Regions from separate parts of the Homo sapiens genome. Here regions 1 and 2 are each linked to region 3. The links are contacts of gene promoters, found by promoter capture Hi-C in blood cells and fetal thymus (Javierre and others, 2016). All regions are on one chromosome and are shown on one strand. The core of a region is centred on a gene start or on the middle of the fragment in contact, and the rest is flanking DNA. Distances in the headings are between cores, read along the strand shown. Region 1 overlaps MACF1 (microtubule actin crosslinking factor 1). Region 2 overlaps MACF1 (microtubule actin crosslinking factor 1). Region 3 holds the start of BMP8A (bone morphogenetic protein 8a).

Region 1 (4,138 bases), core at 1,046-3,545, 210 kb before region 3:
GTAATAAACACCTTCTTTATCTCTGTTCCTCACCAACATAGCTGCCATTAGATCCCTCTAGCTGGGCATTTGTAGAACCACTGCATTGTGCCTTCATCTGCTTCTTCTTCTTCTTTTTTTTTTTTTGAGAAAGAATCTTGCTCTGACACCTGGCTGGAGAGCAGTGGTGCAATCATAGCTCACTGCAACCTTGACATCTTGGGCTTAAACGATCCTCGTGCCTCAACTTGCCAAGTAGCTGGCACTACAGGGGAGTACCACCACACCCAGCTAATTTTTAAATTTTTTGTAGAGACAATTTCTCACAGTGTTTCCCAGGCTCGTCTTGAACTCCTGGGCTCAAGTGATCCTCTTGCCTATGCCTCCCAAAGTGGTGGGATTACAGGAGTGAGCCACTGCACCCAGCCCTCATTTGCTTCTTGAAAGTTTTCAAGGTCTGATGCTTTATCTTTAGTGGGTGATGAGGTCAGCTAGAAACTTGAGGACATAATAATCAAGTACTTACTTGCTCAGAACAACTCGTCTCATCCACTGAGAGACTTACCAAGTCCAAACTCCTCAGCTGGGATAAGATAAGATACCAAGTCGAAACTCCTCAGCTGGGATAAAGATAAGATAGATTACCAGTTCCTTTGTAATCTATCTTATCTTTTCTATCGGTTCCCAATTTAAACCTTCTCATTTTAACAGATCAGTCCCTTAACTACTATTTCTGTTTCACCTTATCTCAGTTTGTTTACATCCACTTTCTACGTGGAATTCCTTTCTTCCTTGGCTTTCACCTGTTCTGTAACACCCTTCAAGGATGAGTTTATATGGTACTTCTAGAAATCCTCCAGCCCACAGTAATTTTCCATTCTGCTGAGATTCTGTATTGGATATTACTATAATTATTGGTCGTTTTTGGCTATAAATTTGTTTAACTATTTCATGTGACCTACCATAGATATGAGATTTTTTTCGTCCAGAAATTAACCTTCAGAAAAGAGATATTCTCTTTATATTTTACTTCTTATAAAGCATTTCTTGTTATTAGGCTTCCAGGGAGCTTATAGTCAGTTCATGAAAAAGGGTGAATAAATCTATGTCACCATCTGCTAGTTCAATCACTATCATTTTTTTGTAGAGATCAACTGACATAATTGATTAAACAAAAAAGAGGAATGAAAAATCTAAGAAAGTTTTAGTTATTGTTCCTGGGAATATAATCTCCTAATTTGAAGTGTTGAAAGTAATTGTATACAAGCCTTAACATTAAAATTTTTTTTTGAATCACTCACATTGCATATGAAACATACACATACATTATGGGGATCACAAATAAACACAGCAGAATGAATGAAAAAAAAAAAAAACCCTAATCCAGTGTTATGTAACTGGACTCTTGTGGTTTGAAATGAAATACCCAGAGACAATGTAGATTCAGAAAAGTGCTGTTATTAACTTTAAAATCTTAGAAAAGTAGACAGTATTTTCTAGAAAATTCACTAAAAAGATAGCTTTATTGAAGGAAAAAACATTGATGTTAAAGATGCATGTGAAGTTTGAATAATACAGTTTTTTGAAATTACAAAGGCAGAAAATACATTAATACTAAATGCTTAAATATACTGCTTAATTTTAAATATGTGTATATGTGTAAATAAATTTCTAAAAGTTTGGGTATTCAGGAGGACTACAGAGCTTCCCTTCCTGTATTCCTGTTTTACCTTCATACATCTGTTGTTATCTGGGAAAATATTTGGGATAATCATATGTTAGTTATGGCATGTCTCAACTAAGTTCTTGCAGGCCAAGCATGTCTTCTTTTTTTGTTTTCCACCTTTTTACCTGGCCAACTTCTACTTATTAAAACTCAGCACAGATGTTGTTGTTGCTGAGCAATCCTCTGGCATTGCTAGTTTGGATTACTTGCTTACCTCTGTCACAACATTGATCTCTTTGTATAGTAAATTGTCTCCCTGATTAAATTGCTTGAACTTGAGGCCTGAGGCTGTGTTTTTTTATTTTGAGATATCAAGAATTTAAGCACAGCTCCTAGAATATAATGGTTGCTCAAAAAATATTAACAGTATAAGTAAGTGGTGTGTCTTTTCTTGTTCTTCTCCATGGTGCCAGTCATAGTGCTAAGATGTTGTTCAGTCAATACTTATTGAATTATTAGGAAAACATTCAGCTTCTGGGAATACTTCAGAGAAGCAATTAACCAAGCTTTGGGAAGTGTGAGATGAAAGGAAATTCAAGTGGAATTTGCATATTCTCAGGCATACTGTTGAGGCTGTTCTCCCTCTCCAAATGGCTTCCTCCTTAAAAAGCCCAGATGAGGGAGAAAGATCTCTGAAACTAAAGCTGGATTTCTGCATTTGGGAGATTAAGGTAAAAGCTTCTGCATAGCCCAGAGCACAGTACTGTGCACACATATCATGTGTGAGTATACAGAAAGAGATTGATGAAAGCCAAATTTAATTACTGAGATGGTTGTGATGATAATCCCATTTTTCTCATCCAGTTTCCAGTCTAGGTAATGGCCCTAATCCAAACAGGTATTTTATTTTTCTTTCCCTTAGGGATCCAAACATCTATCTCATTACAACTATGTTTAAAATCTGAAGTAAAGCTGTTCATTGAAGTAGTTTTAGTGCAATATACAGAAATACTAAGAAATGAGAGATGTTATTAGAAAGATTATGGCTGTAATGAACATACAATATCAATTAACTAACTGGAATTTCATTTTTGGGTGAAGAACCCAAATACTCAGATTTTGTTTTGCTTATTCAAGTTCTGTCTTGTTTTACATCAACAAATCTATTTCCTGTTCCCAATAATGTTTTACTTTAATATGTACGTGAAGCAGCTACAGTGAAGGCAGTGGGATATATCAATGTTGCATTTAGCCAGTGAAATAGGTAGCTAGAAATGTTAAGGGGAACTGAAATAGAATTGGTACTAGGAAGAAGCTGTTTATAGGAAGAGCCGTGATCCATTATTGTGTCCTTGGCTCTGCAGCTCCATAGCTTCTCTCCCCACTACCGCCCCTCCCCCAGCCCCAGGTAGATCTGGAGTTGATTAATAGTTTTAGTAAACTGACTCACACTGATCACATTTGCTTGAGATTGGTCTATGTGAATTTATTAATTTACAAAATAAATTTTAACTGCCAAGTGATTCAAGAATTTGAATTGGCCACTTACTGCTTTTGTTGCTTTAGAATATCTATATGGGAAGCAAATAATAATCTGAAGGTTGTCAGGTGAACATGCAGTCAGAGCAGAGAGGTGGTGAGTAGAGGAATGATTTGTAGGATGGGCTTATTAGCTGGCATCATCAAAGTAGAATAGTCTGATTTCTTCTGTAGAAATGTACCTGTCAAGGGCATAAGATCCTATGTCCCTTGAATCTGCTGGGTAGGGTACAGTTTCACCTTCACAGGCATGGAGGCAGTACTTCCTGGCTTCCCTTTTCTGTACTCAATGCAAGCTTCCCATACTCTTCTATTCTCACGGTCTTTCTTCAGACATCTTAGTAATATTTAGTAGCCTGCAGCTTTCTTTTATTCTAAATATAGTGTTAAAGTTCCTGGCCCTTTTTTTTTTCCAATTTTAAAATATCATCTGATATTTAATCTCATCTATTATGAGTTTGTAAATTCAGACACTTGGAGATGACTTATTATTGACTTCTCCCTTGTATTGATCACAAGGGAAGCTACTACTTTCATGGTACTGCACCTGATAGAGACGACTAAGAGACAGGATGTTCTATTGACATGCCGGTGTTTTCTCTGCCCCAACACCCAGACCAAAAATTGTGTTGGGTATGCTGTCTTATTATTATGGGAAGGGAATACATGTACCCTCGGCACTATCTACATCATCTTATTTAATCCTTATAATGATCCTTTGAGAAAGTTATTATCCTATTTTAAATATGGGGAAAATTGGGCCAGGAGGCTTACATGGTTTGCCTGAGGTCACATTTCTAGTAAATGCCTTCTTTCAAACACATATCTGTCTGAATGAAAGGCTTAACATTTTTCCTTGTTAACAAGGATTGTTTTTATACTTTTTATTATAAAAATAAAGTGTGGTCATTACTCGAAGTCTGAAAAAAAGAAGAGTAGGAAGAAAAACTAAAG
Region 2 (3,662 bases), core at 835-3,334, 160 kb before region 3:
AACACCTGAGGGGAAATGGCTTAATGATTTTAAGGGTTTCCTTATTATTTATCCATATTCATCCCATATTTATTAAATGACAGCTACTGTTCCTAGACCTTCATGGACAATGGATCAGCTCTTACAGAACTTACTCACTGAGATAAAATGAAATGCCATTATTTAGGAGGCAGGGAAATAATTGGAAATTGCTTCCACAAGATCCTCTATCAATAAGATAGAGAGTTAAATAAGTAATCAGAAAGTAGCACTGACCAAAGAGGGACAGATAAAATTATATACAGAAAATGAAAATAATGAACATGAAAAGAAGAGCTGAAAAGTTGGAGAGTAATAAAAATGATGAAGTGTTGTAAGTGGTTAAACACTTAAATAATTTAAAATCTGAATGTATTATTCTGTGATAAAAGATCTCAAAAATGAGAATTCTTTAGGAGCTGTTTCTAGGATTTGCAAGGGTAATTTTGACAGCGTATATGCCTTATTCACTGACCTTCGGACCTAACTCCTGTGTTAAGATGTGACTCTACTGTACTTGTCTTTTACAGTTTTCTGGGTCTGACTCTGGGAGGACAAACAAGATTTAGAATCAGACCTTGATTTGTTTCTGGAACTCACTAGTTTTGTGACCTTGGACAAGTTACCTAAACTCTGTGCCTCATTTTCATTTCTTCAAACTAAAGATTCAAACAATTGTTTTCATAGGATTACTGTGAGAATTAAATGTCAGTGTTCAGTAGATCTAGTAATAAGTGATAGCTGTAGTCATGGTTATTGTACTACCCATTCTAGCCTGGATCAGAAGAAAAGTTACTAGTGGTTCCATAGGCAAGGGTCCCCAATCTGTTTCTTCCTTGACTTGCTACTTCCAAGACCTAGAACTAACTTAATTTAGAGCCATTGCCTTGGGAGAAGCTAGCATTGTCCAAGAATATGAGTATCCCACTTGCTAAATAGTTGCTTGAGTAGTATACACAGGCCTGTTTACTGGGATGCACAATTGTTCTGGAGCTTCTGGGCTGCATAAATCTCTCTTATTCTATGGACCAGTCCTGCTGTGCTCATCAGCAGGGAATTGCTACTTCTAGAGTCTTCTGTGTGGTTTGCAACACCAAAAACTTGTTGTATGGCGTTGAATTCTCACTTTGGGGGAACTGTTACGTGTCTTTAAGAACATTTATGATGATTTAGTCTTAGAAATAAGATTAAATCCTATCATTTTCACTGCTTACCACCCTGTAGAGCTTGTCACTCAGATATGCTTAATGCCACTATCTCTCAAGTAATCTAGGAACTTCTGACCTATTAAACATTCTGCAGTTTAGAAAAACTCTTTTTTAGTCTTAACACCGGGTGGCTTGCTTCAGAATATTTCCTACATGTTGGGGCTTATCCCATGCTGGGTTTTCCTTGTGGTCAGAATTTTATATACTGTAGTACTTTTTTTTTTTTTTTTTGAGACAGAGTCTCGCTCTGTTGCCCAGGCTGGAGTGCAGTGATGCAATCTCAGCTCACTACAACCTCCACCTCCCGGGTTCAAGCCATTCTCCTGCTTCAGCCTCCTGAGTAGCTGGGATTACAGGTGCGCACCACACCCAGCTAATATTTTGTATTTTTAGTAGAGACGGGTTTTTCACCATGTTGGTCAGGCTGGTCTCAGACTCCTGACCTCATGATTTGCCTGCCTTGGGCAGATTATAGGCGTGAGCCACTGTGCCTGGCCTGTATACTATAGTTCTTTGAATGACTCCTTTCAATAGTTGTGCTTTGCCATTGGCTCTGATTCAGTTTTCTTTTTCTTCTCTTTTCCTTTTTTTTTTTTTTTTTTTTTTTTTTTTAGGAATGCAGAGCAGTTGCTGGGGTGATTGACCTAGGCACAGTGGAGATATTTCCCATCTTCAAAGCCATGCAAAAGGGCCTCCTTGACCAAGACACAGGCCTAGTGCTTCTGGAATCTCAGGTTATCATGTCTGGCCTCATTGCCCCTGAGACGGGTGAAAACCTCTCTTTGGAGGAGGGCATAGCCAGAAACCTCATTAATCCCCAGATGTACCAGCAGCTCCGGGAGCTACAGGATGCCCTGGCCTTAATAAGCAGGCTTACTGAGAGCAGAGGCCCTCTTTCTGTGGTGGAAGCAATTGAAAAGAGAATAATCAGTGAGACAGTTGGACTGAAAATCTTAGAAGCTCACCTGGCAACTGGAGGTTTCAGTCTTTCCCCTAGTGAGAACTGTATTAACCTGGAAGAGGCTTTTCATCAAGGCCTCATTTCTGCATGGCTTCATTCAGTATTAGAGTCTTATCTTAGAACATCCAAGAATTTGATAGACCCTAACACAGCTGAGAAAATTGGTTTGCTGGATCTGATGCAGCGATGTATTGTCCACCAGGAATCAGGATTCAAATTACTGCCTGTCAAACAATTGGCAGGGGGGATGGTGAGCTTGAAATCAGGCCGGAAGGTTAGCATTTTCCGTGCAGTTCAGGAAGGGCTAATAGATAGGCAGGTCACTGTCCGGTTGCTGGAAGCTCAGCTTTTTGCTGGTGGCATAGTAGATCCAAGAACAGGACACAGACTTACAGTGGAAGAGGCTGTAAGACATAATCTGATTGACCAAGATATGGCCTGTGCTATCCTCATAAGGCAGCTTCAGACAGGAGGCATCATAGACACTGTCACGGGGCAAAGGCTAACAATAGATGAAGCAGTGAGCAATGATCTAGTAGCTGCTAAGATCGCCCTTGTGATTCTGGAGTCCCTCTGGTCATTCATGGGGTTGCTGTGGCCTGAATCTGGAGAGATCCTCCCAATTACAGATGCCCTAGAACAAGGTATTGTGTCTACTGAACTAGCACATAAAATCCTTAGTAACCGACAGCATATTAAGGCTCTGTTTCTACCAGCAACCACAGAGATTTTGTCCTGGAAGAAAGCAATAGAAAGTGGTATCCTGGATAGAGATCTTGCCAATAACTTAAAATCGATTTGTATACCTGATGTGATGCCCCACATGCAACTAGCAGACTCTGCAGAACAAAATATTAATCCTGGAGCAGCAGTTCTACCGTGCAGCAAGAGCCACCCTAAGGCCACAGCAAGCCAGAGTGAGAATCTGTTGTTCCAGCTGATGACTCACAGCTATATTAATGTGCAAAATGGACAGAGGCTGCTTCTGTTAGATAAAGAGCTGATGGAGACACTAACATCCAGAGATGAGTATCAAACAAGTCCTCCAAAAGTGGTTGAAATTGGGCATCAAAGGCAAAAAACTCCTGAGGGATTGCAAGAATCAGCTAATGTGAAAATCTCAGGAACTTTCAGCAGTGGGTGGACTGTGAGGCTGCCTGAGTTCCAGTTTTCTTCTCAGAACAAAGAATATCCCGATCGGGAAGATTGCACTACAGAAAAAGGCAAAAAGACCACTGTAGAAACAGAAGATTCTTCTGTAGAGAACCCTGAACAGGATCTGTTTGTAGAACAAAAAGAGAGAAATCCAAACATTGATGCTTTGAAGGTAATAAATAAAGTCAAATTAGAGGTACAAAGGCAGTTGATAGGTACCCAAAGGGAAGACCAAACAGCAGTGTCTGTCAGAGAAAATGCCAGCAGGGGACACCTCCTGACCATACCTCCTGCTGAGGCGGAAGGTGTGCCGTTGGTGG
Region 3 (3,730 bases), core at 558-3,057:
GTCATTGTACCCACCCCCACATCTGATTGCTGTACCTGCCTCCAACTGCAGGGCCCTGACTCCTGTCTCCCTCTGATCCATATTCCGCTCTGCTTCCAAGCTCTGGTCTTGGGTACTTTCAACGGTTATTCTGCATTATCCTTAGCTCAGTATCCTTATGGGACAGTCCCAGTCCGCAGGGTAGCCCCGGCTTCTAGGCGGTGGCATCCACATCTGCTCTGCCCGGAGCTGATGCAGGTGCCTCATGGGGGGCGCTCTGGGGACCGCGCAGAAAATTTACGAGCAGTGTGGAAATATACCTGTTGGGTAAAAGACAAACTAGGCGTGTGTTTAAGGCACCAGCAAATGACTATTTAGATTAAGAATTTGTTGTAGAAAATTTTATTGAAGTGATGACTTCCAAATGTGATTTTTGGGGGCATTATACACTTGCTTCGAGGTTTAATCTTCAATCCACATGGCGGGGCACCATAATCTCTGGTGCCCAGGGCCCTCGTCTAGCCCCTGTGAGGCCCTTTGCGGTGCCTCCCTTGCCAGCCCCTCCAGCCTCCGCCGTTTGCCCCCTGGGCTCTCCAGTTTCCACTGCCCCCCTGCCCGAGCGCAGCTCCACTGCTGTGTGACCTGGCGTAAGTCCCTTAACCGCCGTGTGCCTCAGTTTCCTCATTTATTAAAAGAGGAGGTTCCAGTGGTATGTACCCCCTAACGATGTGCGAGCATCACAGAAATGACACGAGACACACACTCAGAACATGCCTTGGCGTGGCAAGTGCTGACTGTTGCCATTATTAGGCTCCCCAGCCGGGGTCTCAGGGCCTTGGCACAAGCTATTCCCTCTGCCTGGAGCACTTTCCTCCACTGACCTTTCCTGGCGCTCCAGGTCAACTCCAGGAGCCTTCCCAGTGCAGTCTAGGTGCCTTCTCCTTCCGCAGCGCCTGAACCACACAGGAATAAGTAAGGCGAGAGCGCGCCCAGGGAAGAGCAGGTGTGCAGAAAGGGACTGAGTCAGTCGAGACGTTTCCGCGGGGATCCTTCTCTTGGCAGGCCTGCACCGGGGCCGTGGGGACTGAGAAGATGTGCACAGGTGGCTCCCGAGTGCTCGGGAAGGGCCCCAGAGCTTCTGGCCCAGCTGGAGGCAGGAGGCGGAGCCTCCTCCGCAAAGCTGGATCAGTACCGGGGACGCAGGGCGCACAGCTAGGGCTGGCGGGGGCGGCCCGACTGGGGCGCTGCCTGGGCTCACGCGGGAGCCAGGTGGGGGACGCAGGGAGAAGCAGCCGAGCAGGTGCCGAGAAGGAGGCGCCCGCAGAAGCGCATGCAGGGGCCACGGGGAAGGCGCCAGGAGGCGGTGAGGGGCCGCGGTGGCCGGAACCCGGGCCGGCTGCTGCGGGCAGAGGAACAGGCCCCACCCGCGGGGCTTGGCTGGCACCGCCCGGCTCTCCAGACGGGGCTACGGCCGCGTGTCGGGCCCGGTGGCGACCACGGCACACCACGGCGAGGCAGCCGGGTGGCACCACTGGCGGGACCGGGACGGCGCCGCGGCCTTAGGATCTCTGCGCCGAGGCCCGCGGCGGGAGCCACGACGGCCCTGACCACGCTGACGCCCAGGCTGCGGGCTCCTCGCCCGGACCAACCGCCAGCCACGCCGAGGTCGCACCTCGGGGTCGCCCCACCCGCAACACCTGCCGCCGCCCGGGGCTCCTAGCGGGCGCGGCCTCCGCGCCCAGGCCCCGCCCCCGCGCCCCCATTGGTCAGTCCCGGGGGTGGGCGGGCGGCACAGACGGCTGAGCCGGGGCAAGGACTCGCGGGAATCGCGCCGCCCGGGTCGCTGCCGGAGCTCGCCGGTCGCCCCTGCGCTGCGCGGACCGCAGCCACAGCCGGACTGGTGGGAACGGCGGCGACAGACGGATTGGCTGACAGTCCCAGCCCTCAGAACAGCCCCGGCCTCGAAGCGTTGGCGTCTGCGTCCGCGTCAGCGTCCGCTTGTCCCGGAGCCGGGGCAGGTGCGCGCGGGGGGCGCTCCAGGGACCGCGCTGAGGCCGCAGACGCCGCCCGCCGAGCCCCGCCCCCTGCTCGCCGAACTCAGCTCCCCGTTCGCCGTCGGGGCGTCCCCGGGCCCAGGGGCGGCGGCGGAGCTGATGTGCGCCCGCTGAGCGCCCCCGGCCCGCCATGGCCGCGCGCCCCGGACCGCTCTGGCTTCTGGGCCTGACGTTGTGCGCGCTGGGCGGGGGCGGCCCCGGCCTGCGACCCCCGCCCGGCTGTCCCCAGCGACGTCTGGGCGCGCGCGAGCGCCGGGACGTGCAGCGCGAGATCCTGGCGGTGCTCGGGCTACCCGGGCGGCCCCGGCCCCGCGCGCCACCCGCCGCCTCCCGGCTGCCCGCGTCCGCGCCGCTCTTCATGCTGGACCTGTACCACGCCATGGCTGGCGACGACGACGAGGACGGCGCGCCCGCGGAGCAGCGCCTGGGCCGCGCCGACCTGGTCATGAGCTTCGTCAACATGGGTGAGTGCGGCCGCCCGCGCGGGGACCCTCGGAGTAAGCTGGCTGCAGGGGAGGGGCGCGCATCCGCGGGCGGTGCCGGGCCCTGGCCGAACGGGGAATCACAGACGGTGGACGCGAACCACAGGGGAGTGGGACCGCCGTGGTTAGGGAAGGTCTAAGGGTCATGGGGGCCCCCTGGGCTGCGGGGTGGTCAGGAGCAGAGTGTGGGGGACTGTGGACTCCCAGGCGCTGCCTTCACCCTGCCCCAGACACACCCAGGAGTAAGAATTAGGTGATGTCTTTGCCCACCTGGGCTGCCCCGGGAAGACAGCCTGGTCCTGGGGAGACAGGTGAGTAAACAGAGGCCGGGATGCTGTCACTGTGATAAGGACAGTACTGAGGAGAGGGACAAAGTTCAGCGTGGAAACCTGTGGTCACATCATCGGAGTGACCAGAGCTGAGTCGCGTGCCCTGAGTCCACAGCAGGCTCTTCCCTGTGCGGAGCCTGGGTGGGGTGCGGCTGTCAGGGGAGCGGCTGGGGAAGGAGCAGACTCAGCTCGCTGGGGCAGGGACTGTGGCCTTGTCACCCTGGGCCCTGCACTTAGCATGTGGCCTGGTATAGGGTGAGTGTCCGGTCCTGTGGAATGGCCCAGTGGGCAGCTGGACCCACTGTGTTCTCCCAGGCAAAGCCGGGCTTTTCCTGTCTGCAAACATCTTGTATCAAACCCTGGAGCTATTTATTCCTTAAGATCTCAGATTTTTCTTTTCCAGTACTAAACTCTTTGGTCTATGCTCGTGTAGTTACTGTTGGTCAGGTCCCCCGTCTGCTTTGCCTCCTGTCTGTGGCTAGTGACAGGCCGGGGTCTGGGAGCCAAGGACCACAGCTCAGCCCGAAGTGGGGGAGCTGTGGGGCTGAGAGCAGGGAGTGGGTACCTGCCCCAGCCACCAGCCTCCCTCCACAGACAGCATCATTAATTCTTCATCCTCCCGACAACCCTGATAACAGCCACGGTCTTCATCCCCATCTCCCAGATGAGGACAGTGAGGTTCAGAGAGGCAGCGCCATGCCTAGGACAGCGCAGCCTCTATGTTGCTGAGCCAGGACAGGCCCAGGAAGCCTGACTGTCCATCCAGGGCTCAATGAGATGACATTTCTGTTGTCAGGTCAGGCTTTCAGGGTGCAGAGAGCTTTCTGAGGAGTCTGGGCTGAGGAACACAGGGTACTGAGCTGCAGCAGGTCTTGTGGGGCCATCA

What was found. The method cuts DNA at HindIII sites, captures the fragments that hold promoters and counts their contacts. A CHiCAGO score of 5 or more calls a contact.
Region 1: a fragment that was not itself captured here is called in contact with the fragment with the promoter of BMP8A in region 3 in 1 of 17 cell types (total CD4 T cells); the score reaches 5.2 in total CD4 T cells.
Region 2: a contact is called between a fragment that was not itself captured here and the fragment with the promoter of BMP8A in region 3, in 1 of 17 cell types (M2 macrophages). The highest score is 5.4, in M2 macrophages.

What each region holds. Positions count from the first base shown.
Region 1 is chr1:39,275,813-39,279,950 of GRCh38, forward strand. All of the region lies in intron 6 of MACF1 (microtubule actin crosslinking factor 1), which reads left to right. Among named protein-coding and RNA genes, the nearest start is that of MACF1, 73 kb to the left of the region's middle. The HindIII fragment of the contact is 172 bases long and covers 2,210-2,381 here.
Region 2 is chr1:39,329,363-39,333,024 of GRCh38, forward strand. MACF1 (microtubule actin crosslinking factor 1) reads left to right here. Exons shown (of 101, transcript NM_001394062.1): 37 at 1,841-3,662. Among named protein-coding and RNA genes, the nearest start is that of MACF1, 130 kb to the left of the region's middle. The HindIII fragment of the contact is 4,223 bases long and covers 1-3,662 here.
Region 3 is chr1:39,489,829-39,493,558 of GRCh38, forward strand. BMP8A (bone morphogenetic protein 8a) reads left to right here and starts at 1,808. Exons shown (of 7, transcript NM_181809.4): 1 at 1,808-2,497. The coding sequence starts at 2,164. LOC124904101 (a long non-coding RNA gene) reads right to left here and starts at 1,720. Exons shown (of 2, transcript XR_007065978.1): 1 at 861-1,720; 2 at 1-299. RefSeq lists silencers at 1,307-1,936, 2,037-2,136. The HindIII fragment of the contact is 20,371 bases long and covers 1-3,730 here.